Linked DNA regions of Homo sapiens: regions 2, 3, 4 and 5 are each linked to region 1. The links are contacts of gene promoters, found by promoter capture Hi-C in human tissues and cell types (Jung and others, 2019). All regions are on one chromosome and are shown on one strand. Each heading gives the region's core, a stretch centred on a gene start or on the middle of the fragment in contact. The rest is flanking DNA. Distances are from core to core; before and after follow the strand shown. Region 1 holds the start of PALMD (palmdelphin). Region 2 holds the start of LOC107985093 (a long non-coding RNA gene). Region 3 has its middle 33 kb from the start of LINC01708. Region 4 overlaps LINC01708 (long intergenic non-protein coding RNA 1708). Region 5 has its middle 4.2 kb from the start of LINC01708.

Region 1 (6,204 bases), core at 2,043-4,542:
CAGGCAAAGAGTGATTATGAATCCTCTCTTTCTCTTAAACCCCTATATCCAATCCACCAACAGAATCAAAAGTTATCCATGGTACAACCATGGTACAACCAAGGTGGTAACACTCTCATTGTTACCACCTTGACACAAGCCACCATCATCTCTCATCTGGATTACTGTAATAACATCCTATCTAGTCTTCCTGTTTCACACTTGCAAAACACTCCTCTGCTTAAAACACCTCAATGCCTTCTCATCCCACACAGACTAAAAGCTAAAGTCCTTACAATGGCCTACTGGACCCTGCATGAATTGGGACCTGTTACATTTCCAACCAAATTTCCTGTTAACCCTCTCTTAGTCCCAGCTCTCTAACCACACTAGCCTTGTTCATAAAACATGGCAGGTATGGCCCACCACAGGACATTTGCACAGGCCCTTCCTGATATGCTTTTCCCATAAATATCCTCATCACGAACTCTCACCTCTTCTTCAAGACCTTGCTCAAATATTGCCTTCTCACTGAGGCTACCTTAGTGACCCAATTCTAAATTGCAACATTCCCTGCCTTAGCCATCTTTATTCTCCTCCCTGCTCTATTTTCTTTCCATAGCATTTATCACTATGGCTGATGAGAAAGTGCCTCTCAGACATTGAACTCCAGGAGCATAATTGACCCAAGAGTCCCAAGCTGTTTCACTCTGAAATCCATTCCTATGTTTGCTTCAAGGCTATGCTTCCCAGGGGCTACTCCCAGCCAGTGACTGAGCATGGCAAGAATGCTAAAATTCCTGAGAAACACTGGACTACTTTGGTTGCTGACAACTGATGTGTCTCATCATGTGTTTATTCATTCATTTAGTTGACAATACTAATACTTGTTAATTTTTTAAGCATTTGTTATTCATTCTGCACATATTTATTGAGAACCTCTGATGTGTCAGGCACTGTGTTAGGTGTCTGAACAAAATTTCTCCTCTCCTGGAACTTACATTCTGGTAGACAATAAAAGATTAAGTAAACAAAATACAGTAGATGTGGAAATGATGATGTTATTCTGGATCCTATAAGAAACAAATGCCAAGATGGGTTAAATGTACAGAATTTTATTAGGAGAAATGACTGTATGAGAGAACATGGGAGGACAGGCAGAAAAGGCTGGAGCTGGACATGTCTAAGAGGCAGGTGAAAGAGAAAGGGAGGCGAAGTTGAGTGGAAACATCCTAATCTGTATTGCAGTCCAAGGGAGATTGTCAAGACCATCAGAGCTCTGGCTCCAGGATTCCACTCAGGTCCCCCAGATTTTCCCAGCTCCAGCCTTTTCTGCCTACCACTCACATGATGATACCAATCAGTTGTTGCAACTCTGCTCCCTCCTAAATTCCCATCCTCTTTTTTTAAATCTTGTCCTCCCCTACACTAGCAAAATCTTGGGTTTTCCTCTAGCAGAAATGAGATTTGAGAGGTAAATTGTTTTTAGGAAAAGATCCAGACTAATAATTGGATGACTGCCCATTTGTTCTAGGCACCAAATATGCAATTCTGACTGAGATATTTATCATTACTGCTTTCTTGTCTTTAATTTCAGCCAGGATCTACAAATAAACATAATCAGAAGTCTTGAAGGTTTGATTTTTTTTACACTTAAATATGTTTCCAACAGTAATCAAACTTGGCACACATCCAAACAATCCTCCCATTCTCTGGTCTCCCTAAGTATCCCTTCTGAGGGTGTATGAGCAAGGACAAACTACTCTCAAGTATAATTTCAGACTCTTAAAACATGGGTTTCACCTTATAGTGACTGACAGAATGAGGGCTCTGTGGTTGGGGAACTCCAGTCAACAATGTGGGGAAACCTCAGTAGGGCCAATAAGTTTCTCCAGAGGACATTCCCACACCGTTCTGCCTTAGGCTGTTACACCCAGCTGTAGTGTTCTAGGAGCTAGACAGAGAAGGAGGCTGGGGGTCCAACCACTTCTCATAAAGACTGACTTAACCTTCAGCCTGTGCCTCTCCTTGCCCCGTGTCCTTGGGCAGTCCTTGATGAATGCCACTTATAAAGTCAGGCAGCTGGTGTTCCAATCCTGGCTTTGCTACTTACTAGCTATATGGCAAATTACCTCTCTGAGCCTGTTCCCTCATTTTTAAAGTAGGGATTATAGCACTTATCTCTCAGCACTTTGCAAGTATGCATTTACCTGTAGAAAGAATGCAACAAATATTAGCTATTATTATTACTAATATCAAAACTGCAAAGGAAATTAAACCATATGTTCAATGTTTGGGTTGTCCTTTTAACCTCTTCAGCTGAATGTTGATATGAAAGCGCTTAATAGCATTCAAACACATAATAATAAGGTAGTTGGTAATTAGGATTTACTTCAGCAAAATTTAATTAAAGAACCTGTAGGGAAAAGAAAACAGACAGAGCCAATTGTACAGCTTCCCAGCCTCTGCTTTGACCTAAGAGTCTCACTGGGCTTGCCTGCCTTTTTCTAAAGGATGGGCGAATATTCACACAGTGCCGGGCTCCAGGCAGTTACCAAATGTCTCATCACATTTTCAAAGGCTCACTCCTCTCTCTTGCGTAACCGGTGAGGTCAAAATGGGCACCTTCCTGAAAGCCAAGAGTGTCATTTCTGAACAGCGTCCAAGAAAGAAAACTGCATTCCATAGAAATCCAAGTCAAGCAATAACAAAAGGTGGCACTTGGTGCTTAAGCCACACTAAATACCTTGGTGGGCCAACTTCTTAATATAGTCACATTAACACCTTTGATTTCTCCATGACCTAAAGATTCCAAAGTTTGCAACAAAGTGCTGAGCAGGGGGGTCGGGGGTGGGGTGTAGACGGGGGAGAACGAACCAATGTAAATTTACCACTACATGAAGTTTAAAGTAGCTATAGATTGTTGTATTATTATCAAATCCAATCAGTGGAAGAAAGGCAAACAAGTGACTTGGCACTTCTGCCTCAGTCAAGGTAAGGCTCTCTCCCCTAGAGCTAGCAAGCAGGTAAACGAGCTTTGTACAAACACACACAGACCAACACATCCGGGGATGGCTGTGTGTTGCTAGAGCAGAGGCTGATTAAACACTCAGTGTGTTGGCTCTCTGTGCCACTCCTGGAAAATAATGAATTGGGTAAGGAACAGTTAATAAGAAAATGTGCCTTGCTAACTGTGCACATTACAACAAAGAGCTGGCAGCTCCTGAAGGAAAAGGGCTTGTGCCGCTGCCGTTCAAACTTGTCAGTCAACTCATGCCAGCAGCCTCAGCGTCTGCCTCCCCAGCACACCCTCATTACATGTGTCTGTCTGGCCTGATCTGTGCATCTGCTCGGAGACGCTCCTGACAAGTCGGGAATTTCTCTATTTCTCCACTGGTGCAAAGAGCGGATTTCTCCCTGCTTCTCTTCTGTCACCCCCGCTCCTCTCCCCCAGGAGGCTCCTTGATTTATGGTAGCTTTGGACTTGCTTCCCCGTCTGACTGTCCTTGACTTCTAGAATGGAAGAAGCTGAGCTGGTGAAGGGAAGACTCCAGGCCATCACAGTAAGTCTGCATACAGTTATAACTCATTAACGTTGTTACTTAGAGGAAGGCAGACCGTGGCCGGCTGCCCCTGTCGCTGAGCCCTCGCAAGTGGAAAAACAGAACTGTCAGCCTTCATGGACGAGTCTCTGTTTCTCTCTTAACCCTCATGACCCTCTGTAACTCTGGGGCTTCAGAACCTGAGTGCAGGGCAAACGTTCTTGATTTTCAAAAAGGCTGTGCCTGCATTTTAAACAACAATCAAAAGCTGTTAAGGCAGTCTGATTAACTATCTTTCACACTCTGTGGTGTACCTTAGAAATGCAGTTTTTCCTTAAATGTCCATTTGACTGGCATTAGATAAAAAAACAGATCCCCAACTTGGAAACTTTTTTAAGCTATGAATGCCTCAAAAAGTTAGAATTTTTTTTAAAGAGAGAAAAAGAAATTTTAAAAATGACCTGAAACTTTATATTTGTAGTGTGGTAGCATGTTCCAGAAAGCCTAAAATAATTAAAATGAATGTTAATATACGTAATTTAAGCATTAAACAAGAGAAAACTAGGTAAAAGCACGTATCAGATTAATTCTAAGATATCAGTTTCCAGCAGAGTCACAAACTGAATAAGATCCTGATAAAGGAATGCAGTGCATGCAGTGGATTTGGAAAATATTTTGTTAATACCGAGAAGGAAAATCGTACATTTTTTATGTTTGTTCCGGGAAAAAGTCAAAGCCAGAAATAAATTACTTTTCTTAAATGATCCAGCTTTCTTTTTAATTTTATAAAACCCTGTATTTGGCAGTAACTTGGAAATCTGTGTCACAATCATTTATCCCTAGCTATAACTTTTGATGTAATTGTTTTAAGAAGAAAAAGATCTTTGGAAAGCAATATCCCAATTTCTCAGCATTTTCTGCCACTGACATTAGGTATAGGAAAAAAATGAGTACTTTTTAAAAACTGATGCTAGATCAGGGATTTTTTGTTGTTGTTCTTAAAATTTTCATTGCATAACTAATTATGCTAATCCTAATTTAGATTTTTTACTAATTGATACAATATCTTAGTTTCACCCAGGAAACATTCAGTAAATTGAAATGTCTTCTTAGCCAATAGTAAGACACCAGAAGTCTATTGATAAGGTTGGCACTTTTCCATAAAACAATGCTTTGTTAAATGTCTAGCTTCTAATTATTACATTTTCCTCTCTTCAGAAAACCTTGGTCGGGATTATTGTTTGTTTTGTTTTGTCCTTTTTTGTCATTAAACTCAGCCACCATCTCAGCTGTCCTGCTTTAAGGGACAGGAACTCGGCTCTGCTCTGTTGTTTTTGGCATGGGCCTTTTACATTACAGCTGTTGTCTAAAGGTTACTTTATTAGACTGCGTGAGTTGTGTGGTCACAGGCTCCACTATTTCTAATGCTTATATCTCCTAATTAGCTAATTGAAATAGACAAGTAGACCCTTGTTCTGAATTTGCCTCTTTCAGTTGGGGGACACCCTCGCTCAAGCCCTTTTTCCCTCCAGTGTACCTTATAACTCTTACCAAAGCCACACATGTTCCAAAGATATGGCTGTATACAGTTATTTCTAAGGCTAGGAATCTTAGTCACTGAAGGTTCCAAACGCAAATAGAGACAGAAAATCCTCATAATGTCTTAAAAGCCATCAAGAGAGTAAGTAGCTTCCTGAATATGCAGATGTATGCTTTTTTGATGATTAAAAAAATTTTTGGATTATTCCATCAGCCTAAATATATCCCATTAGAAAGGATTAAACAAATCTCCCAAGTAAGATCACAAAGTAATTCTAGCTTGGAAGTAATATACTTGTATAAAGGTTGTAGGGAAAAAACTGGAAAAAGTTTATGGGAACAAATTTCTCATAAACCAGCCTACACCTCACCAGGCTAAATCCAGTCACATTTGTCACCACCTAGAGGAAAAGTGGAGCAGTGGTGTGTCCATGGAAACAACACATCCACTCTCCTCCCTCTTGGACGCCCTGGGACACGCCAGCTTTCCTCGCCCTCGCCCTTGCCTTGCCCAGGAAGCCACCTCAGCTAGTCTCTTTCCCCCTAGGAAAATAAAATCACAGAGTATGCAGAGAGTTTGCAAGAATTATTTCATTTTTGGAAATGCTTAAGCCTCAGAATCTCCAACCTAGACTAAAACTCAGAGAGTATCTTCTCATTTTAGCTTTTTCCTAGTACTTACCTACACTGAAATAATTTTTTGTATACTTCAAGAATGAAATCAGAAGGCAATTCCCCAATGCACCCAGACATAGCAACACATAGACCTCACTTTGGAGGAAAAAAAAAAAACTTTTACACTCTAGGATCTATTTGCTTTTTACATTAAAATTCGTTTCTCCAATTGCTGGCTATAAAATAAAATAATCTTCACAGTTGTATTTATTCTACCTGGTTTCAAGTGCCTAAAAAGTCATTATTTTTCACTGCAAAGAACTGAAAAAATAAACGTATATACCTAGAATTTGACAGAACAAAGATCCAAGTGCCAGTCTTTTTCTTTTTCTCAAAAAAAAAAAAAAAAAGGTTAAACACATTAAGTAGTTGAAATGTGACACTTAGGCTCTCAAATTGAAAACTAAATTACTATCGTGATGCCATTCATTTCTCATATCAGATCAGTAAATTGAATTTTAGATTAGTC
Region 2 (6,204 bases), core at 1,611-4,110, 210 kb before region 1:
TCTGTTAAGTATTGGTTATGTATTGTCTTTTAAGGTCTATGCTATTGCTATGAATGTCCCTTGGGTGAGCTACATGAAAATCAACATCAAGAAAAGCCTAAAGTAAAGAAGGAGAAGATCTGTACTTTGGAAGATGATATGGCTTTGGAGAAAACTGGAAATACAGTAATAAAATTAAGAATCCAATGAATGGGCTTAATAATAAATTACACATAACAGAAGAGAAAATTAGTGAACTACAAAACAGTTCAGAAGAACAAACCGAGAGGGAGTGTGAAACAAAAAAGATGGAAAAATAATGGAGAGGGTAAGAAATGTAAAGAATTCACAAAAAGGCCAAATACATGTAACTGAAGTTGCAAAAGGACAGGAGAGAGTGTAGAGGTAAAAATTCTTTTAAAAACCTAATGGCACCCTTTCCTTCCATCCTCTCTTCACCTGTTATCTTTTTTTCCATTTCCATCTTCAGATTCTTCCCCAGCCCTTCCTGTCCCACCTACACTTCCCAAACTGGCAGGGTCAGCATGGTGGCTAAGAGTACAGGGCAGTTAAGTAGGTGATAGGAAGCCACATGGATTATTTTAAAAATCAGTAGAGTGGGCCGGGAGTGGTGGCTCACACGCGTAATCCCAGCACTTTGGGAGGCCGAGGCAGGCGGATCACGAGGTCAGGAGATCGAGACCATCCTGGCTAACACAGTGAAACCTCGTCTCTACTAAAAATACAAAAAATTAGCTGGGCATGGTGGCTGGCACCTGTAGTCCCAGCTACTTGGGAGGCTGAGGCAGGAGAATGGCATGAACCCGGGAGATGGAGCTTGTAGTGAGCCAAGATTGTGCCACTGCACTCCAGCCTGGGCGACAGAGCAACATTCCATCTCAAAAAAAAAAAAATTCAGTAGAGTGCCTTCCTCAAGAAACTTTTCCTTTTATTTATTAAGTGGAAAAAATACCAAGAAAATCGTGTGTGTGTGTGTGTGTGTGTGTGTGTGTGTGTATATCTATAGTTTGGTTATCTTACAAGAGACACGCTTTTAAAATGAGGACACAGGAAACATTAAAAGAATATTATACACACACACACTTCACATAAAACTCAGTAAAAGAAATGTGATATAGCAAACTGATACCAGATACAGTAGACTAATAATTCAACAGAAAGGTATGGCAGTTCTATGTGTGTATGCTCTTAATAACATGCACTAAAAATAGAGCCAAAATTGGAAAAACTAAGAGGAGAAATATGAAAATCCAAGAAAATATTTGGATTTAACTCAACTTAGAAAATGATAGAGGAGGCCAAGGGTGGTGGCTCATGCCTGTAATTGCAGCACTTTGGGAGGCCGAGGTGGGTGGATCACTTGAGGTCAGGAGTTCAAGACCAGCCTGGCCAACATGGTGAAATCTCATCTCTATTAAAAATTCAAAAATTAGCTGAGCTTGGCGGCACGCGCCTGTAATAACAGCTACCCAGGAGACTGAGGCAGGAGAATCACTTGAACCTAGGAGACAGAGGTTGCAGTGAGCCAAGATTGCGCTACTGCACTCCAGCCTGGGCGACAGAGTGAGACTCCATCTCAAAAAAAAAAAAAAAAAAGAAAATGATAGAAGAAAAATAATCAGTGGAGGTATTTGCAAATATTTGAACACCACTAAGTACAAAAGCACCCTCACTGTTATACATTATACATAAAAAATACCTAACTACTTCAAAATACACATTCTTCTCAAGTTTACAAGGAATATTTACCAAAATAAGCCATATGCTGGCCATAAAACAAACCACATTTCTAAAAATGAAAATTATATAGTATGTTCTTTCAACATCAGAAATCAAGTAGGAAATTGATAACAGAAAGTAATTAGAGGCTGCTGGGTGGGGTGCTGGAGCCTGTGCCTGGTAAATGGTTCCAGGACAAGAGAAAAGAAAGGTATGTCAGACAAAGAAATAAATGGCATGTCAGGTTTTGCAAGAAGAGAGGGAAGAGCCAGCTACCATAGTTGCTTCCTGTGATGTCCAATGGCAGAGGCCAAAGAGAGTCCTGGGGCACCCTAGAGGGAAAGTGTTCTGGCATGGAGGATGACATAGGTTACCTTAAATATGGCACCAGTTGTGGTTGAAATTACCTTGTTTTTCTCTTTTCTTTCTTTTTTTTTTTTTTTAATCTATTGTCTCTTACTTGCCCTTCTATGTAATGGAAGCCCAGTAAGGCCAGAGACTTTATCTAGCTAATTCCCTGTAACCCTGGCACCTTGGACATACAGGTATTCAAGTATTTGTTCCCTGAAATAATACTCTGAATTAACCTGCTCACATAAGAAAAATAACACCAGCTGGGGAGCACTGGGACTGACAGCTAAATGTTTGTTAGACATTTACTATGGGCCACGTTCTTGCTGTGCTCCTTCTCCCTGTGGTTTTCAAAAACCAGTCACCTAACCTGAAGCCTCAAACTCTTCATCTGCAAAAATGAGTTGTGGCAGGTGCCTCTGAAGCAAAAATCCTGGGCTAGAAGGAGTGTCGTCATCTAAGGCAAAAAAGAAAAACAAAATCAAGACTAAGAGAGGAGGAATTAGAATGAGACTCATGTACCCTCCTTCCCCACTCCAGGGGAAGGAGAGACTGTTTGGGAATGCCCTCCCACTACTTCCAGGGCAGAGGCTGTGCAGAGGAGCCTTGGAGAATCTGCAGCCCACTGATGACTCTGCTTCAGTCAGTGTTTCTGACTTTCTGATGGAGAGGCCTCCCATTGATAAGATTTTTGTCACTGCAGCTAAATGGGGGCTTCAAATACAAATAAGTTTCAGTTACAGAAAAAAAAATTCTTGCACGTTTAAGCTTATCCCTTCTACGGTATTATCTGTGAGAATTATAGACCAACCATAAGGCACTCAACATTTAGTTGTACATGAGAATTTTCACTTCACTCAAAGCTTGTGAGGTTTTATCATTAACGTTTTAATTTGGTGGCTATAGTGGAAAAGAACAAAGCTAACGAGAACCAATGAACACTGCCTTTCCTGGGATTGTCACTTCAGTAGGTTGTGAGTTCCTCTAGGGCAAGGGCAGGGTCCATACATTTCCTTTGAATCCCTCACGTAGTCACTAGCATGCACAGTACTTGTATCTAGCACATGCTCAATAAATGTGGAATGAACGCATCATGAACAAAATATAGACTAATGACTTTGAGTGCTGATTCTTTTTGTCAATAGTATAATATTTAAGATATTTATGTAACAAATATTGAAACAGTTGTCAAAAATATAACAGAGCATAAATAAAATTAGAGAGTTTCAAAGTGACAACTAAACCGTGTTTTTGGATATCAAGCAATATATTTCTACATAACTCACAATCAAAGAAATATTAAAATAGAAAGTAGAAACTATTTTGAACTAAATGCAAATTAAAATACTATTGTAAAATGCAGCTAAAGTTATACTTGAAAAGATGTTTATAGGCTAAATGAATAGAAAAAAATAAAAGTATTAAAAATTAGCCGGGTGTGGTGGCATGTACCTGAAATACCAGCTACTCGGGAGGCTGAGGGAAGAGAATCACTTGAACCCAGAAGGCGGAGGTTGCAGTGAGCCAAGATCACACCATTGCACTCCAGTTTGAGCCACAGAGCGTGACTCCATCTCAAAACAAAAAAAGTATTAAAATTAATGAACTAAGTATTCTTCACAATAAGCTAATAAAAGAACAGAATATTAAATGAAAAGAAATAATATCATAAGAGCCAAAATAAATAAAATAGAGAATTAACATATAAAAGGAAAAAAAAGCAACGCCAAAGATGAGTTTCTTGAAAAACCTAATAAACCCTGGCAAGATTGGTCAAAGAAAAAAGAGAGAAAATATAATTTCTAATAGCAGAAATGAAAATAGGGACTTGGCTATAGATCCCACAGACATTAAAAAGCTGATAAGGGGATATTATGAAGAAATTTGTCAATAAATTCAATAATTTTATGAAAATGGACAAGTTCTTTGAATAACACAATCCATAACAATAGATGGAGTTTATTCCAAGGATTCAAGACTGGATTAACATTTTAAAAGCAAAGGATTTTTGTTGACATTATTTATATTAAATTTAATAGAATAAGGAGGAAAAAGCATATAATCAACTTAATAGATACAGAGAATATACTTGATAAATAAACCCCACTCATAATAAAATTCTCTGAACAAACTACAAATAGAAAGAAACTTTCTAAATTTGGTAAGAATGTCAATGATAAATAATCTATAACATATGTGTATATAATATATATGTACATTTAACATTGTACTATGTTGAAATATAAATGCTTTCCATCTATAAAGATGTCCATTCTCACCATTACTATATAACATTCTACCAGAAATCCTAGCCAAACTACTAAGGCAATAAAAAGAAATAAACAAATAATAATTGAAAAGGAAGAAGAAAATCTATTATTATTTACAGATATTTTGTACACTAAAAATCCAAAGGGTCTCCAACAAATTATTATAATTACTAAATAACTTTCACAAGTCACAAAATCAACATTTAAAAATTAATTTCTATATACTAGCAATGAACAATTAGAAACTAAAATTTTTAAAAACAACATTATTTTCAGTAGCATCAAAACCTTTAAATATTTAGAGATCAATTGAGCAAAATCTATACAAGAACTCTAAACTGAAAGCTACAAACCTCACTGAGGAAAGTTAAAGAAAATCTGAATATATCAGGAAATATACCAAGTTTATGGATTGGAAGATTCAGTATTGTTAAGGTGTCACTTCTCCTCAACTATACACATAAATTCAATGAAATCCCAATCAAAATCTTGCAATTTTTTTCATGGAAATTGACAAACTAATTCTAAAATTTAAACAGAAATGCAAAAGACTGAGAACAGCTTAGACAATTCTATAGAAGGAAGAACAAAGTTGGAGGACTGACAATCTACCAGATATCAAGATTGACCATAAGCTACAGTAATTGAGACTGGTAATGTTTGACAGATGAATATATAGGAAGAAATGGAAAATAAAAAGAAGTCATGAGTGCGAAACAGGTTTAAAAACCAGCATCCAGGCAGTGGCTACCAGATTGAAGGCCTTGAATAATCCCCTATGTCTCTTAGCTCTGTCCTCCGGGCTGCGGGCTTCACACTGAGTCCCCATCCCCAGCCTGTGGGCTCCAGGCTCTGCTCTCCTAGCTCTTGGTTCCACCCTCTGATTCATCTTTCCTTTATGCATGAAATGTAGCTTGTGTTTGCAGATAAGTAGGTTTATGGGGCTTGACAGTCATCTTTTATTTTATACACTTTCTGTTCCTTTCAGTCTAGCTTGCAGTGTGTCTGCCAACATCATTTTCTCTAGAATCTTGTGGATTTTGCATGAATTTCATGAGGGTTCACTCCATTAGACTAAAGTCTCACCAACAGATCTTTCTGAGCTAATCCCTTCTCTATATTTGGCTTCTGCTGAGATGGCCAAGGGATCACACCATTCAAGACTCTTAAACTTGAAATCTGTGAGCTGCACCCTTAATCTCGTGCAACTGAATAATCTTTGATCTTTCAAAGATTTCCACAAGAAGTTGTATAGCCACACTCTCAGCCTTTTCTCTATGTCATGCTTTTGGCAGTCATTTGTGAATTTTAGCCTCTTTCACCACCTGGATAGATTAAGAATATTCCAAATCATCAAGTTCTGGTTCTCTTTTGTGTAATTCTTTTCTCAAATTATATCTCACTTCTCTTATTTTACTATAAGCTATAAGAAAAAACTAGGCCACATCTTCAATATTTGGAAATCTTTGTTAAATATCCAAGCTTGTTGTTTACAAGTTCTGCTTTCCACATAGCTGCAAGAATCAATTCTGCTAAACTCCCTGCCTCTGCTTAACAAGGATCCTCTTTCCTCCAGTTTCTAATAATATGTCCCTCACTTCTTTCTGAGATTAAATCATTGTGAGCTCACAGTACTATAGGTCAGAAGTCTTCACAGTCTTAGCTGAGGTCACCAATGAGGGTCTCACAGGGCCTAAATCAAGGGGTTGGCTAGGCTGAGCTCTTATCTGGAGGCTCTGGGGAAGAATAGACTTCCCAAGCTCATTCAAGTAAATGGCTAAATTCAGTTGCTTGCTGCGTATAAGCTCTCAGTTCTTAAAGGCCACCTCCATCTTCAAAAGCAGCAAAGATACTTTGAATTCCC
Region 3 (6,204 bases), core at 1,934-4,433, 190 kb before region 1:
TGATATTATGTGAAAACCACATTTTTAACCAGTGTGTTTGCATTTAAACACCACCTCAACCATCCCTATTTCAAAAGAAAAATGGTACATTGTTGTTGAACAAGTAAACGTTAAGTTAAAACCCTATTAGATGATTAATTTGTAGCTTGGGCAAGGAACAGAGGGATTATAATATATCTAACAGAAAAAAGAGATGGTAATAAGCCTTCTCTGCCTTCTCAAGAGGCTATCCTCATAAATGCCTTTTATTTCTTTGCATCATATCTACAAAGTGTACAAAGTATTGTTATGTTGACAACCCTTTGTAGGACATGGGAATTCTAGTAACCAAATTCCTCTTATGCCCTTATCTTCTTCAGCAGGTTCAACGCTAAAATTATTCACTCCTCATTTATAATCTTCAGGTGGAGGCTGATTGCCTAATACCCCCGGCATTCAAGGGGCTGTATTAACATGTATTCCTGCATCTTTCTTCCTCCCCCGTTTAATGACCTACCCTCCCACTCCAGTCACCACAGACTTAGACTGCTACAGTCTCCAGCAGAACACATCACTACTACCAATAGAGATGTGGTGAGCATGGGGTAATAGCTCTCAATTTAGAGCATTTGAACCACATTAGCACCAGTAACCAGATTTAAATTAGAGTAAGTTACTTAACATTTCTTAACTTCAGTATTCTTGGCTGTAAAATGAGATCTGCAATGGAATTCAATTTATCGGATTAAGTAAAGATTGAGAAAATGTAAATAAAGTGCCTAGCCCATAATAAGCGCTCATTAATGTTAAACATTACTATAATCGTAGTAGTAATGGTAATATATTTCCTTATCAAGGCCCTCCAGCAACTCCTGGATGCTGCTTGCAGACTTCCTCTTGACTTTTAAAGCTCTTCACCATATTTTCATTTGCCTGATCTCTCTTTATATCTTCTTATGTTTTTCATTGATCTCTCACCTCTAAGTATGGTTAATTCTTAAAATTCTTCACTAGGCTTTAATAGGTATAGAAAAACAATTTGTTTAAAGAATGGATTAATATCACATCTTTTGCTCAGTCTTTAAATATTAATTTAATACTTAAGCAATTTTCCATTAAAATACAGAGAGACTCTCTGAGTGTTTGATATCAGAAGCCATTTAGTTGAGGTAGTGAATACAAAAAAAATCTGAGGAGAATGGGCTACTGCCATAGTTAAAGGCTTAAAGGACTGAGAAATGGTGGTCCCTGTTTATACACATTTAATTCATTAGTTTGGCTTTTGGAAAAACCAGGTGGATCCTGATAGATGACAGTGGACTAACACAAACATAACCAGCACTAGTCCCAGTTACAGCTTCTGTACCAGATCTGGTGTTTTTACTAAAGCATGTGAATGAAGTCCCAGGGATGTCACACGTGCCTATTGATTTAGTAAATGTGTTCTAGTCAATATCCATTAGGAAAGGAGATCAGAAGCACTTTGCATTCACTTGATGTGGACAAGTAAATAAAGTAAATATTAACGTTATTGAGGCAGAACTATGTCCTCTATCACAATATGAAGGGGCATGAACAATCTGTACACTCTGCAGAAAATCACATGAATATACTCTATTGATGACATCATGTAAATTGGACCCAATGAGTAAAAAGTGGCAAGTACTCTAGATGTCTTAATAAGAAACATACTCCCCAGAGTGAGGGAAATAAACATTATAAGGATATTAGAGCCTGCTATACCCATGAAGTTCTTTGGAGTTCACTGGTCTCAGGCACATTGGGACATTTCCTTCAAAATAAAGGACAAGTTACTATATTGCACATAAACTATCATAAACTAAACTGGCTGAGAGGCCTCTTCATTTTTTAGAAGCAGAGAATTCCATACTTGGCAATACTGATCAATCTACTTAAGTGATGCAGAGACTCAAATATTTATTGCAATGAAATGACAGAGGCTATGTAGTCAGATTACTCTCTTTAAAGAGCAGTAAAGTGCAGGGGTTAAGATCACAGACTTTGGAATCACCATATCCACATTCAGAACCTAGCTCCACCACTTAACTATCTTGTGTGACTTGAGGAAGTTACTTTCCCTCTCTGGTCCTCAGCTTTCTCATCTGTAATGTGAAGATAATAATGATGCTTGTGACAAAGTCGTAAAGACTATTGTGGACTTCTACATCTGGCACAGATAATGTTAGCTATTGTTTTTATTATATTGGAAATGTCTCCCTTCTAAGTAGGCTGGGTATTTTGAAGAGAAGGGACAGAGAAGGGAAGGCCTAATGTAAACATTAATACTCATGAGCTTATTTTAGTGAATGGGATTTTAAAAAAAGGTTAAGAATTACTTTAACAAAAGAAAAGGTGGAAGATTAGTTCTTAAATATAATACATGAAGAAGGTCAGAGTCTGATAGAAAGAAAGAGATACCCAGAAATAAAGAAGGAGGCCCAAACAAAGAAGGGGTGAAGGTGACCAGGAGAGATGTGATAAGTAATAACAAAGGACAGGCAGAAAGGACAAATTAGAAAGACCTTGAAGTTAAAAGAAGAAAAGAGAGTGTGAGAAGGCCAGCAACAGATTTCAGGTGGCAGAGGGCATGTGCCAGTGAAGAATAAACAGCAGGGCCTTTGTAGAGGGGACCAACTGTTGACAGGAAAAAGAGAAGATTCAGAGTCCAGGGTTGGGAGAATTATAATTTAGAAGCACATTCTGTTATTGCAGCTGCAAGCATCAGCACTCTGGTAAGGTCATGAGAATATGAGAAGCTGATTAACGAAGAGAAGAGGTCATCAGAGTCACTGAGGAAAATAAGTGCAAAAATGGTTGACAAAAGCACATCCACGTGATCAAGAAGTTGATGGGAACTAAACAAAACTGGCGCTATTAAGGCCCAAGCATATTTAGTCAGTAAATGTAATCCTCCTAAATGTCATTTGTTTTAATGATTCCCATTGGTGTGGCTTTTAACAGACAACCTGTCCAAGGTTGATCGTCTGACTTTAAATGTGCAGAGAAAATGCAGAGTTGATTTACACAAACCAGAAAACTGTATCAAGGCCTGAGCTCATTGTGATCAAATAACAATTTTGTTCCTCTAACACTGCCTAAAAGGGTTATAGAGTAAGACTCCGTGAGTTGGTGTCAGCTGTGTGTGTGCAACCACCAACCTTGCTTAACTCCTCCAAGCCTCAGTTCCCTCATCTGTGAAATTAGAATAATAAGAGCAACTACTTCAATGACTGTTATAAAAATTAGATGAGTAAACATATGTAAAGTGCTCAAACCAGCACCAGTCTCAAAGTAAACACCATGTAAGTGTCCAATAGCATAATCTTTATAGGGGATGTTAGCTCTCTTTCAAACTGACTGATTAGATTCATTCTATTAACTCTTAGTTATGGGATAATGTATTTTAAGACGAAAGGTTTCATTAAGTTCCTTTTTCTTAATAATTATTTTATTTGTTTATAAAAATAGATAAAAATGACAGGAAGGGAGGCAAGGTATTGAGCCATAACAACAGTTCTCAGAAGTGTCCAGATATGATCATCACCCTTAAGCCATCAAAACAACATTCACACACACCATCCCATTTGTCATATTCCCCAAGTGAGTTATAAGGACCTGAATCTCTTCACATAAAAGACTTAGATTTATGTTGGTCCTACAAGGGCAAACACACATTAACTGCATCTCAGAACATTTTTTAATTTCAATGAAATGGGTTCCTGAATGAGAGAGCTTTGAAAAGCTGTGCTTTGGTAATTTTTGTTGTTGTTGTTGTTGTTGTTGTTTTTGTTGTTTGTTTGGGACAGAGTCTCGCCCTGTCACCCAGGCTGGAGTGCAGTGGCGTAATCTCGACTCACTGCAACCTCTGCCTCCTGGGTTCAAGCAATTCTCCTGCCTCAGCCTCCTGAGTAGCTGGGATTACAGGCACGCACCACCACACTCAGCTAATTTTTTGTTATCTTTAGCAGAGACCAGGTTTCACCATGTTAGCCAGGCTGATCTCAAACTCCTGACCTCGTGATCTGCCCGCCTCAGCCTACCAAAGTGCTGGGGTTACAGGCGTGAGCCAACGCGCCCAGCCGTGCTTTGGTACTTTTTAGCAAAGTTCGAAACAATAAATGAAGGTGTCGTATCAGAGCTTCCTTCCTCTGGTGCAGCAGAGACTCCCGGAGGCATTTTTTCAAAATAACAGGGACCACATAAGCAGAATATTCTCTCCGAAGTGGTAGAGATTAGTCCCTGAAATGATGGCTCGCTGGGGAAAAGCCTTCAGCCAAACTTTCTCCCCCACAAACACACACCCCAGGGACACACCCTTGTAATATTTCCAGCTGAACAGAGGTTGCCACAAGATATATGATCTTTCAGTAAAAAATTTTCTTATCAACAAATACCTCCCCCAAAGTCTAATGGCTATGAAGCAGAGGTGCTACTTTACCTCCTAAGAAGTTGGAAACTCCTTTTCCAAACATGGAAAATATTCAAGCAAAAATTTCCATGGTTATTCATAACATCAGAAAGTAAAACCATGAAATATTAGGGGTTCTTGCCTAAGGCAGTCTCGATTTCTTTTTTTCTAACATGAGAATTATTATTTTAGAGTATTTCTCATGTTAGTTGCATGATCATTAAGTAATTACTCAGAATCTAGCCTTAGAGGAAAAATTCATCTAAATAGGTATTCCCTAAAGATTTGAAATAAGCATAGGTAAAGGTCAATAACAGAACTCTATTTAGATGAAACAAATATCAGAGTATTGGCAGGTTACAAAGAGAATATTTGAATCACAATTTTATAATTACTGGGGAGATGTTGCTCTTCCCTCACAGTAGGACTATTTGCCACAAAAGTGCAGGATATGGCAATAGATATGCCTATTAGGTCAGGTCAGTGGTCATTTCATTACATCCCCTTTAACTAAATTCCACATGCCTCATGAGTCTGAGCCATCCCAGGATAAATCTGCAGTGCCCGTCTGCTCACCAACCCTTCCACAATTCCTCCTAGTTGTCTCTCATTTGGCAGTTCCACTAGTCCTATTACCACCATTCCCTGATTCCCTGGCTCCCATTTTGCTTCCATCTGTTGGGTCTGATTCTCCATTAAAGCCCTTGGATTGATGCCCAAGTAACCAACCTTTGACAACATTCCAGGACACCACTTCATTCTTCCGTGCTCTAGTTTCCCAGACAGTGCATTCACCCATATAGCACCCATCCGGATTTAGCCTGACACAAACCGGACCTTCTGACCAGGAGAGTGGGAGGGAAGTTTCAAAAAAACATTGCAATTTCAGCAGGCTGGATACAAAATAGTGCCTACGAGATAGACTCATCTCCAACTAGATTTAAAGCAGATTGTCTGTGACCACGAGGTCTCAAAGAGATGGTGAATTTCAAGCGGCAGTCTACAAGTGATAGGTAGTATCAGTCCTTGTACACAGGGTCCTAAGCAATTTTGTGGGGGTCGCTGGCAAGATTTTTGTCCTTTGAAGAGGGAACTGCCTGGAAAAACACTATGCCTCAGTCCCAGGTTGGAGGAAAATAAGAGACAAGGTGATTACAATAACTGTAACTGGGGTAGTGGGATTGAGGCTTTAATCCCAGTTGTAAGAACTGGGGCACACAGGTCCACAATTGTGGTGATGATGGTGTCCCATATCAGAGCACCTGGCTCACATAACCAGCTTAGGATAGCCAGAAGCTCTACCCTTAATACCACTCCCAGACCCCTCTTGAGGTGCCTGGGAATATAAGCTTTTTGATGATTAAGTAGTCTTTGGTGCTAGAACATGTCAGTGACCTCAATCCATTACTACATTCAGGAAAACACAATCCAGTTGCAGTGGAGGTTACAGTAGAGACAGGATGAGCTGTTCCCAAGTCTGGCTATGCAAAGATCTTTCCCTTCAGCCCCATCCTGTTTCCTCCCACTCCTGATTCTGGTGCTAAAATCTCAAGTAGAGAAAGATTTACTCAGAGCTGCCATCAAACTCCCACCCAAGCGTAGGTTGCCAGTAGGCAGATAGGCTTAGCACTTATGCAGTTCCCATGAAAAGAGAAGCTTCTGTCTGTTTTATTATTTAGTTTAGTCAGACAGATAGAAATCTCAGATGACGCTGATATGAGTAATGAAGTAATGTATAAACTGTTTGCCAGCAAACTGTTCCTCCTGTAATCTGCCATGTTACATCTATAGGAATG
Region 4 (6,204 bases), core at 1,568-4,067, 170 kb before region 1:
TTGTTCAGTTAAAATCATAAGACCTACTAGCTGGTCCTCCCAATCCTCTTTGTCACTTGTCTAATTTATTCTCTAACCTGCAAGCAAAGTTAATCTTAGGAAATCTCAAATCTTTTATTTCACTCCCTACTTAAAATTCTTTTATGGTTTTCTCCATCACTTATGATCATTGTTTAATGTGAGCTGGTAGGCCCGGCGTGACCTGAACCCTGTCTCCTCTTTGCCTCTGCACCAGCCATTTATCCCCTCACTTTCATGTCTTTGGCCACACTGATTGGCCTAAGCTCTTATCCACCTCAGGACATTTCCACACATTGTTCATTGCCTGGATCACCCTTTAATTTTAACTAAGCTAACTAACTTTAATTTATCCTATAGATAACAGCTAAAATGTTATTCATTCAGGGAATAATTTCCTCCCCATCCATCCTAACCATAAATATACTTTTAATTAGGCCCCACAGCTCTGCTTCCAAAGTATCCACAATTATTCCTTCATAGGTCAATTCACAATGGTAATAACTTGTTTAATATTTGTGTTCCTTGCTATAATGACAGCAGGTAAACTTAATCCACCAATCCAGATGTGTAAGAAATAAGGCACTGTCATGTTGTTGGGTTTTTTTCTAAATTAACTTAAATCTAATCCCTGCTTAATCAGTTTAAATCTAAATCCCACCAATCTGGAGAGAGTTTTAATCCCAGTGATTACTGGGCTCTACCTCTCCCATTTGCTTAGTGCCATGAAAAATCTGAGTGGTATGTCTTATTCTGTCCTAAAGCACTGCACTACAGAGGTCCATCCTGTTCGTGGTTCTCACTGGTTACTTCAGAGAAGCCCATTTTCCATTCTCATATGGTCTTTTCTAGCACCTATCAGCTCTGTACTATGCTTGGGGTCTGGGAATGTTCACTGGGAGTGGGAATTCCATGGCTTGAGAGCAGCCTCTCTGGATGTACTTCTAGTTTGCCATTGCCCAAAGATGCTGCCAAGGAAACAGGGCAGGGCTATTCTACTTGTGGGCCCAGCAGCCTCTGCCCCCACCCCAGTCTGAAGCCTCTCCAACCTTCCTTGGTGACCCTGAAGATGACACTCCTATTCTTGCTTCTCCATTTGCAGTGAGTACAGTCTTTTGGAAAAGCAGAAAGGTTGCTTTCAAAAAGTTTCTACTTTCCATTCTGCAAACGTCTTTGAAGCAAAAAACAAAAGTTATCTGCTTAAACTAAGAAGGAACAGAAAAATACAGCAGGAAAAAAAAAACAAATGAATGTCTAGAGACAATTCATGTGGGCAGAACTAGCTCATATAATGTGCCCAACATATATGTATATTGAAAGAATGACTGGATTTGAATTAACTCACAATCCTATTAATGTGTTTTACATGTCTTTGCATGTGTTGACAGGCCTGCATAAATGAATAGAGAATTTTATAGAGAAGGAGAAAGAGAAATCTGACCTGATATTTATGGCCAGCAGAAGAGCAGCCTTTCTGCTTTTTGTCCTGCCTATCATATGACCACATCTAGCTTTAGCTCCATGTCAGCTGTGTACTGCAGACACCACCACCATCGGCTTGGCAAAATAAGAGAAAAATAAATATTCTCTCCATATGACATGAATCCCAGTATGCCTTTTCCACAGGCTAATAATAGTCTGTCTTCCCCTATAAGGTGGACAGGGAGTGTAAATGATTGATTGCAAGGTAGAACAAGACTGTATTTGACCTTTTACCACATGTGAAGTAGAATTGAGAGTTTTAGGTACACTCAGAGTTTAAATCAAGCAAGCTCTAATAGAATCACACACTACAGTGTTTAGATAACCTTCCTTTCGAATAGAAAAAACATTTCCACTTCTCCATTCCAAAGCTGAGGTACATTTTGAAAAATGAGAGATCTATTAGCCTTCTTTATAAAGGGGAAAGAGGAAGAGAAAAAGGTTTTCGGCTGGATTTCTTCTTATTTTTGCAGGAGACATCCAGCAATTGTGCTGTGCTTACAGAAATTTCATGCGACTCTCTAAGGCTACATATTGTCTAATATATGGTTGATACTTAAGAATATCAAATAAAAAACACCGCTTCCTAGGAACTGGGCTCTCTTTCAACTTGAATATTTGGATTTTGCAAAATGTATTTATACCTCCCGGCGCTGAAGTCGATCTGGACTTCAGCAAGTTACCTGTCCTATGGAACTGGCTCTTTTAAGAACAAGCCCCTGGCTCCAGGAAGCACATTTGCTCAAATGTAAGCGGGCTGCAATTGAAGCAATTTGCTCCCTAACCACCTTGTAACAATCTTGTTTCTGATTCTGTGTTCCTTCTCCAGCTCCCCTCCTGCTTTGGCCCTGAAGATTGAGGGACCATTTTATCTGCACTTCAGAAATCCTTTTCATATCCTATTCCTGGCTAGGATGCTGCCTCCTAGACCACTAATTCCATGGACCGTTAATCTGTTAAAGTATTCTCCATCTTGCAACAGACTCATATTTGGCTTTCACAGATACTTCTGACCGCTCATGGCCCCATTTTAAATGAGCCTTAGCCCCATTCCTAAACTGCCTGGATCAGGTTGCTTCATCTCAGAATTTGAATCTTTATCAAAGAATTCTGGTGTTGTATTTCTAGTTGTAAAAGAATCCCAGGATAGCAAGACACAAGACTTGCCCAAGATAGATACCCAGGCCATCATTCCTATCTAATTCATTTCAATCATTGGGAAAGCTAAGTTCTTAAACCAAGATATTCAGCCTTCTTTAAGCAGACTCCTTCATTTAATAGTTGAGGTAGCGAAGTATCATTCTTTTGCGGCACAAACTCCAAAGACCAGCAGGAAAAAATGCTGATATCCTTTTATTCTAAGGATATAGAATACAAGTTATTTAGGTGCTCAGCGAGACATATGCATCCAGAAGCATTAGATTGAATGACACAGTCAACACACGGAGGCACATCTCCACTCTCCTCAACATAAGGAAGCATGATTTCTGGTGTTATAGAAGCTGTTTCTTGACACATTATTGCAGGGAAATGCCCCTGAATTGCAGTTACCAAGTGAAAGCCACATCACATAAGCTATCTGACAAATGAGGAGAAAATCAGGTCACAGAGCATTATTGGAGAGAAAAATAACGTCAAAGTACTCAACCATAAAATTATAGCTGAGAATGCTGTCATAAGTCAGCACCTCTAATGGAAACAGCAAGGCTAGCAATTGTTGCTCAGGTACCTGAGAGGCAATGTTCTACAAGAGCGATGGTCACCCAGAACATCAGTGCTCTCTTTCAGTTGGCTGGTCCCCAGCCTCACCTTCTTCTACCCAATTTGGACCACCTGACCCCACCTTTAGCTTCAGGACTGTTACATCATCAGAAACCAAGCCTAGACTCAGCAATGAGGACTTTAAGAAATTCGTGAGCAATATTTGGATGTGACACTCATTCCAGGCCTGACCTCACTTCATAAGATGCACATTCATAATTGTATCTGGATATTTTTCTTCTGCTCACTCAAATTTTACAGTCTGGATTTTGAAACCAGATGGGTTTAAGTTTTTTCACTGAGGAAATTGTAATATCTGACTTCTTGCCTATAAAGTGGAGATAAAATATTTACTTGCAGAGTTGTTATGAGCATTCACTGAGATGATAAATGTGAATGGGTCTAGCATAGGGTCTAACACATGGTAAGTGCTAAGCTTGCTGCTTTTTAAAATTCCCATACTACAATTCTTCAGTTTCTTTTTCTGTTTTCAGTCTGATGTCTTACTTGTTGACATTATCAATGGCTCATCTCAAAAATTATAATTCTAATTTTTTTTAATTTTACTTCTAAAATTATTTTAGTTTTAATTAAGTATATATTCTTCTAGATGTGCACTCTAATACAGTAGCCACTAGACACATGTGGCTATTTAAATATAAATTTTAATTATTTATTTTAAGTAATATTTAAAAATTCAGTTCCTCCATTGTACTAGCCACATTTCAAGTGCCCTGTGGCCATGTGTGGCCAGTGGCTATTATATTGGATAAAACAAATACAGAATATTGTCATCATGGCAAAAGTTCTGTTTGACAGCTCTGGAAGAGACAAAATCTAAGGAATTTGCTAATATACGCTATTACTTTTCTCTGAACATTTAGTTACATTTTCCTTAATGTATCAACAAATGAGACAGGAAGTTCTAGCCAGAGCAATCGGCAAGAGAAAGAAATAAAAGGCATTCAATAGGAAAAGAAAAAGTCAACTATCTCTCTTCATTGATGGTATTATTCTATATCTAGAAAACCCCAAAGATTCTGCCAAAAGGCTACATGAACTGGTAAATTATTTTAGTACAATTTCAGAGTACAAAATCTATGTAACATATCTATACACCAATAATGTCCAGGTTCAAAGTCAAATCAAAAACATGATCACATTTACAATAACCACAAAGAAAATGAAATACCTAGGAATACAGCTAACCAAGGAAGTGAAAGATCTCTATAAGGAGAACTACAAAACACTGCTGAAAGAAATCAGAGATGATACAAATAAATGGAAAAGCATTCCATGCTCATCAATGTCATTAAAATGGTAATACTGCACAAAACAACACTGGAGAGAGATTTAGTGATTTAACACTATTCTTATCAAATTACCAATGTCATTCCTGATAGAATTAGAAAAAACTATTCTAAAATCTATATGGAACCAAAAAAAAAAGCCCCAATAGCCAAAGCAATCCTAAGCAAAATGTACAAAGCCAGAGACATCACACTACTTGACTTCAAACTACACTATAATGATATAATAACCAGAATAGCATGGTATTGGTACAAAAACAGACACATAAACCAGTGGAACACAATAGAAAACTTAGAAATAAAGCCATACACTTACAACCATCTGATCTTTAATAAGGCAAACAAAAACAAGCAATGGGAAAAGTCCTCATTATTCAATAGTGATGAAATAACTGGCTAGTCATATGTAGAAGAATGAAACTGGACATTTAACTTTTACTATATACAAAAATTAACTACAGATGGTTAAAGTTTTAAGTGTAAGACACCAAACTATAAAAATCCTAGAAGAAAACCTAGGAAATACCCTTCTGAACATCAGTCTTGGCAAATAATTTTTGGCTAAGTTACCAAAAGCAATAGCAATAAAAACAAAAATTGACAAGTGGAATCCAATTAAACTTAAGAGATTCTGAACAGCAAAATAAACTATCAATAGAGTAAACAGACAACCTACAGAATGGGAGAAAATATTTGCAAACTATGCATCTAACAACAGTCTAAGATCCAGAATCTATAGGAACTTAAACAAAAAACAAATAACCCCATTTTTCAAAAATGAGTGAAGGACATGAACAGACACTACTCAAAAGAAGATATACAAGTGGCCAACAAACGTATGAAAAAATGCTCATTCTCACTAATCGCCAGAGAAGTGTAAATCAAAACCACAATGAGCTACCATCTCATACCAGTCGAAATGTCTATTATCAAGAAGTCAAAAAACAACAGATGCTAGTGAGCTTGTAGAGAAAAGGGAATGTTTATACCATTGGTGGGATTGTAAATTAGTTCAGCCATTGTGGAAAGCAGTTTAGAGATTTCTCAAAGAACTTAAAACAGAGCTACCATTCGACCCAGCAATCTCATTACTGAGATATACCCAAAGGAAAATAGATCATTATGCCAAAAAGACACATGCACTCTTATGTTCATCAATGCACTATTTATAATAGCAAAGACATAGAATCAACCTAGGTGTCCAACAATGGTGGATTGGATAAAGAAAATGTGGTACATGTACACCATGGAATATTATGCAGCCATAAAAAGGAATGAAATCATTTCCTCTGCAGCACCATGGATGGAGCTAAAGGCCATAATCCTAAGCGAACTAATGCAGGAACGGAAAACCAAATACTACATGTTCTCACGTACAAGTGGGAGCTAAACATTGAGCACACATGAACATAAACATGGGAATAACAAACACTATAGACTACTAAAGAGGGGAGAGACAGAGGGAGGCATGGGTTGAAAAACTACCTATTGGGTACTATGCTCACTACTTGAGTGCAATAAACCAACATAACAAACCTGCACATGTACCCCCTGTATCTAAAATAAAAGTTGAATTTTTTAAAATGAGACAGATGGTCCAGAGGCCATCTGCTTCTACAACTCACGTTTTTAA
Region 5 (6,204 bases), core at 2,617-5,116, 150 kb before region 1:
GAGTCAGAAATTGTCTGTAATGTCAATTGTTGGGAAGTCATGATCTGAAAAGAGACCATTGGATTCAAAATTATGAAAACTTTAAAGATGATATGCAGACTCTAGTGAATGGGAGACAAAAAGGTGGCAAAATATGCTTATAGTAAACACACAATAGCATTTACCAAAGTGTGTTTTGGAAAACATTTACTGCACAAAATTCTCCCCAAAAAGATGGAGGGAGTTGACTGCCGAATACATTTGAGACATGCTGCTGCATACTATATACCTATGAGGGATTTTAAAAATCTATTTGTGATTTCTCACCTTGGGAGATAAGGAAAGGAAAAACAAAAAGTATTATTTGCTTACAAACTCACAATGTCAAGTCAAGAAAACAAAGTAACCTCCTGGGACTTCTCCACAAGTGTTGACCAATAAAGTTTAGTTTCTAGTAGCACTAAATTTTGTTTCACTAAGAAAAACAAAAGCCCTTGAATGTGGACAAATTAGGCTAAATTTTTTAATTAGGTATGTCTTGAAAATAAAAGAATCCATAAAGTATGTTTTCCCTTCTCACAAAGCACATTTGTGGTTTGCTAGCCTGAGCGCAATTACAAGCTTCGGCCGATTTTTGCAACTTTCCTTTTCTCTAATTTGTAAAATGGAGATAAGAATAACACAGATTTCAAAGAGTTGTTTTGAAGAGTCAGTGAGAGAAAACATGAAAGCACTTAGAATATTGCCTGACATATAGGGAATGCTCAATAAATATGAACTATGACCATTATTAAACTTTTCATATCTCCTTCAGCATCAAGCTGGCACACAGCAGAACGCAAATCATCTGGGCTCCCTGATGAAGTGTTGCTATTGACCCTTGGCAGTCAATGTACCATCCATGCATAATTTACACACTAATAATCAAGAGTTGACAGAGGAACTATTATATTTGGTTACTTCAGTTTCAAGTGGAGATATCTGAACTTGAGAACTGTCAATCTAGCCATGATTTTCACAGAACTATCCTTGTGGTATTTGATCATTTAATCCACCTAATTGCATGAAAATAGAATAATTTAATGCATATTCCTAATTGGGATTCACACCTAAACAAACCCACATGTTCCTAAATGAGTGTGCGGTGAGTCTGTGCTTTTCTGTCATTACTCCAACCATTGCATTAAATTGTTAAGAAACCTATTTTCTGAAAGGAAACTATAGGAAAATATCTAGCCATTTTCTTAATTAAAGAGCAATTCTTTAAATCTTATTGTGATTTCAAAACTTTAACATAAAGTCTTCTGCTCTGAGGAAAATTATATATGTCAGGCTGCCAAAGAATTCCCTCCCCAAGAATTTGCACCATGTGATCATGTGGGCTGTGAGCATTCTGAACGCTCTCCGCTCAAATCTCCCAGACAGAGCACTGCCTCTTCCTCCCACACAGTTTGGGGTTTGGGTTTGTTTTTTTGTTGTTGTTTTTTTTTCCCAAAAAAAAAAGACATGAGAATTTAACTCATTTTTACTTTTAATGTCAGACTCATTCTGAGGCTATATACAGAATCCAGCATCAGCACAGAAAAAGTCATTTGAGTTTCCTCTTCCTCATATTGAAATAAAAATAAATATCTAAAATTATCCATAACACGTAGTTTTAAATTACGTAGATGTAAAACCCTTGCTCTGAAAGCAGCACTGAATTCCCCTCAGAATGTCTTTAGAGGTGGGTTTTTATATGTCTGCCATCTGAGTTTTTTATACCCGCATCCTTAGAAGGCGTTTTATAGATTACCCTGTCTGTCCAGCAAGAAGTCCACATTAGCTTGTGGTAACTGCACTACCATAAGGAGAGCAATCAGCATTACCTCATTGCTATCTTCTGCCTCTTCAGAATTCACAGACTCTTCATCCCTCTTCTGGCAACTTCAAAGACAAAAAGTAGGCAAACTATCCACCTCTATTTCTATAATTCTACCACATGTCTTTGCTTGCCAGGATACAAGAGGGTATTTTAGAAGACAAACATTGTGTCAATCCAGTACTCTATTGTCATTTTGTAATGTTTTCATATTGCCATTGCATTCTTCCACCTGGCCACACCACACATAGTTAACTAAGCTTCTTTTGTACTAACTTCATAGACACAAACCCAGTTACTATAAAGAATAGAGTAAGATCAATCATGTGCACCTGACTCTTCCCGTCACTGCCTTCACTCTGCCAATTCCTCACTATTCTTCGTCTCCTTAAGTATAACTTACTCAGGGAGACTTTCTCTCTACCCTCCTTCCTCTCCCAACACACACCTGTCTAGATCAGGTCCTTCTATACCACGTTCTGAGAAACATCCTAATTCTTCTTTTTCTTTGTGGCATTTGAAATGACTGTAATTTTAGGGTGATCTGTATAATTGTTTTTTAGTGTTTCTCTCTCCTAGACTGTTTACATGTCCACGATTACTGCTCAATAAGTGTTTGTTGCATGAATGAATCCTTGTGGGTAACATCTTTTATTAAAGAAACAAGTCTGATGAGATTATAGTCATGTTCAGATTTCTGTTATCAAACTGAGGAAGAAATAGAAATAGACCATTATCACTTTGGCATTTAGAAAAGCATTTAATCTAACCGTAATTCATTTCATGAGTCTGGCCCTTTAAAATTTAAAATATAGCAAATAAACAAACAATGATATTACCTTATCCTTGGGAACACTATTTTTCCCCTGTTATAGTTTTCTATAACTGACACAGAACATTAAAATGTGGTATCTGCTTTTTCAGCAAATCATTTAATATACAAAGTACCATTGCAAAATAGCCTATTGAGGAGGATAAAAATTTACTACCAACTTCATTTGGCCTCCCTGACCAATCGCCTCTAATGGCTACTCTGTGTTATCTTCCCCATGTTCTCTGCTGTTTATGTCTTTCCTGCTGCCTCTTTCGCTGCTCGGCTTCCTCTCTGTGCTTCACGCATTTTACCACTGGCATGCAATCCACTGAAGGATGTTCCCGCAGAGATTTTCCACTCCGTGGAGGAGTCAGAGATTCACCATTAACCCCAAACTGGCCTACTGGCATTTACAGAACTGTCCAATAATGTCCCTCCTCCCTTCTCATCAGCTGGTGTATGCTTGGAAAATACAAGCAATTATGATATTGTCCTGAGGTAAACATAATTAGGAATCAAATCATTAGAGAAAAAAATCCACCATAATGCTTTTTAAGCCAAATATAAATGATTTATTAAAAGCAATCTATATTCGTTTGTCAGACTGATTTCCAGAACTGAAAATCTCATTTAATATTTCTATCCTTACCTAAAATGGTACTTAAAAGGTTATTTGAAATGTTATTTGTGATTACTAACTCTTATGGTCTTGCAGAAATCAAAATACCACAGACAAATATAGGCAAGGGTAACAAGGCAGCTGTAAATGTTTTTCCTCTAAACAGATTCTCAAAAGTTCTTTTTACTGAAAAAAAAAATCAACCACGCAAATGAGCTCTGCTAGGAAATATTAATAAATCTGCATGCAAAATTTGATCCAGTAAATATTAGGTGCCTGGTATGTATGGCACTGGCAAAATGCAGAGATAAATAAATCCTCAAACTCTCTGTCCCTCAGTATCTTCATTTGCAAAATGGTAATAACAATAGTACTTACCTCAAGTACGTGTTGTAAGGATTAAAGGAGTTAACACATATGAACACTTAGGGGTGGGCCTGGCACCTAGTAAGTGTTCAAGAATGTTAGCTGTAATTTTTATTATTTACAATGATGAAGAAGTTTTAGCCGGGCATGGGAGATTTAAATGTAAACATAAAAATATGGACCCCACTGTGGTTGTTCCAGATGTTTTTAGTATTTTTTAAACCTCACTTGCCTTGAAAATGCATCTATATGAGTAGCACCTCCACCATAAGTCTGATCAACATTGGACATCTCAGAGACTTGAAACCAAACCAATAAAATAAGGGCTAATAGTACCTTTTCATTCCCTCCACTCATTTCCAGAGAAAACCGGGAAGATAGTTCTTTCTGTGGGAGACCCAAGTTTCCAGCTCAGGCTAATGCCTGGATATCTTCTTGAATATTCTAAAGTGAACCTAAAAGACATCAGATAAACCCTGAAATATAATTTATTTGTTTCATTTGGTTGTGTGTGTGTCTTCTGAAATCTATAAAATGGGGATAATTACACAAAATGACAATATATAATAATATATAATGCTGTGAGCCAGACCTTGCTACAAGAAATTTCCATATATTAACTCATTTAATTCTCACTATAACCAATTATTGTTCTCAATTTACAAATGAAGAAGCTAAGGCACAGAGTAGCTGCTCATATAGATGTATCTTGCCCAACGTCACACAATTAATTAGCCAGGATTTGAAACTAGTAATGCTCTTAACTACAATATTATACTGGTCCCTACTCAGCACTTACATTATAAATTATGCCTATACCAAAATTTCTGATATGTCAAGACCAAAAGCTCCAGGAGCTCCTTAGAGGAGCACAAAGAACATTGGCTTTGTCCTGTTTAACAAAGTCTGTGTGGTTCCTATAACTAGGGTCACCATACATCTAATTCTGCCTGGGACAGTCCAGGTTTGTACCTGTTTCCCCAGTGAAAATTATAAATAGCACCCCCTTTCACCTTCAACAGTAATGTAAATTATATGTCTGATCTTTAACTTAATAGTTCCAAATGTGAGAAATGAGTTTGTATGTGTGTATATACACATATACACACATATGTTGCCGCCTGAGATTTTGAATCATTTACCCTTAAAATGCTTTGCTACTTTTTCTTGCACAGATTTCTATCTCAAAAATAAAATCAGAATATTCACTCAGCAAAAGAGTGGAGGGGGTATAAAGGAGTAACAGGCCCTGACACCTATGACACAAAGTATTGGTAATAATTCTGACTAGAACTCAGCTTATTCTCCCGTTGTCCTGCTTAGTTCATGAACTATTGTTGAAGTTGTTTTGTAAAATGCATTTGAATGTATCTTTGACAAACATACTGTTAGTCACTTTTCATTGTTTTGTAATCTCCAAATTGATATGTTCACTTGCTTGATCGTTGAAAGAGGAGCATCCTATTTTCATTCATGGGGTTTCCTTGAGGTTTCATTGAGGTTTCAAACTTTCATGCATTTGTTAGGGTATGTATAAAGTAACAGATTGTTTTCCCTGCTACACTTTCACCATTTCTTGTCCTGATTCAGTTGTCTTTGATGCTGCTTTGTTTTATGAATTTAGTTTGCCTTCTCTCAATCCAAGAAAAAAAAAAGAAGTAGAAGAAAGAAAAGAAACAATTACATCACCTTTATATGCTTTCTGGGTATCTTCCTTCCACTTATCATTTCTTCAAAAATGGAGTGACTCTCTTGACATGGACTATAAGTAGATATCTGACTGGAATGCCCCTTGTGCCTTCTCCCTCTGGTGAAATATTACCTATCATTCCAAGCCCACATTAAATATCTTCTCTTCTGTGAACCCGCTAGACAGAATTAACTGATACACCATCTGTGATGCTGCAGTTTTGTTTATCCTATATTATGATTTTACCTTCATCTGTCACTTCCCTCGGTTGTGAGCTCAATCACAGAGCAAGAATTTTTTTTATATCCCTCCCTTGGGTCTAGCACAAGGTCTGGTATATATGGTACTTAATAAATATTTGATGAATTAATAGCATTTTATAGTATACAAAGTTATTTCAAACCTATTAGCTCATCCTAGCTCTATAGCAATTTTATGAAGTATAAGATTATGTTGTTTAGACTTATAAAATATAACATTATGAACATCTCCATTTCATAGATGGGAAAACTGAGAAATCCCAGAAGGTAAAGGGTATGGGAAGAGGGGTATAAGCCACTGTATAGGTTCCTAACTCATTAGATTTATTCAAATAATACATCATTTAGTCTTCAAGGGCAATAACGATCATTTTGATTTGAGAAGAACTATTTGATTTGACAATCTTTTCTAGTGTCCAGAGAAGCTTCTGGAAATTGTGTTTCTGGTTTTTCTTTATAGTATCAGTTATCAGAACTACTATGAGCTTTGCTGTGAAAACTTCATCTGACACAAAATGTGCATGACACAGCCTGAACTTTCAAAATTGCACAAGTCAAAGAAGATAGGCCTTGAAATTACATTTCCTGAGTAGGTTTTCCATTACTTTTAGAATG

Evidence for each region. Contacts are between HindIII fragments. The study calls those that stand out against the background at their distance.
Region 2: a contact is called between a fragment that was not itself captured here and the fragment with the promoter of PALMD in region 1, in 1 of the 25 tissues and cell types used here (aorta).
Region 3: a contact is called between a fragment that was not itself captured here and the fragment with the promoter of PALMD in region 1, in 1 of the 25 tissues and cell types used here (IMR-90 fibroblasts).
Region 4: a contact is called between a fragment that was not itself captured here and the fragment with the promoter of PALMD in region 1, in 1 of the 25 tissues and cell types used here (heart right ventricle).
Region 5: a contact is called between a fragment that was not itself captured here and the fragment with the promoter of PALMD in region 1, in 2 of the 25 tissues and cell types used here (liver and neural progenitor cells).

Annotation. Positions count from the first base shown.
Region 1 is chr1:99,642,821-99,649,024 of GRCh38, forward strand. PALMD (palmdelphin) reads left to right here and starts at 3,293. Exons shown (of 8, transcript NM_017734.5): 1 at 3,293-3,542. The coding sequence starts at 3,498. The HindIII fragment of the contact is 22,760 bases long and covers 1-6,204 here.
Region 2 is chr1:99,433,652-99,439,855 of GRCh38, forward strand. It overlaps LOC107985093 (a long non-coding RNA gene), which reads right to left and starts at 3,639. Exons shown (of 3, transcript XR_001738163.2): 1 at 3,523-3,639. The HindIII fragment of the contact is 3,033 bases long and covers 1,345-4,377 here.
Region 3 is chr1:99,451,609-99,457,812 of GRCh38, forward strand. No RefSeq gene overlaps it. Among named protein-coding and RNA genes, the nearest start is that of LINC01708, 33 kb to the right of the region's middle. The HindIII fragment of the contact is 5,453 bases long and covers 458-5,910 here.
Region 4 is chr1:99,473,161-99,479,364 of GRCh38, forward strand. The region is part of intron 2 of LINC01708 (long intergenic non-protein coding RNA 1708); the gene reads right to left. Among named protein-coding and RNA genes, the nearest start is that of LINC01708, 12 kb to the right of the region's middle. The HindIII fragment of the contact is 7,447 bases long and covers 1-6,204 here.
Region 5 is chr1:99,488,876-99,495,079 of GRCh38, forward strand. No RefSeq gene overlaps it. Among named protein-coding and RNA genes, the nearest start is that of LINC01708, 4.2 kb to the left of the region's middle. The HindIII fragment of the contact is 5,033 bases long and covers 1,351-6,204 here.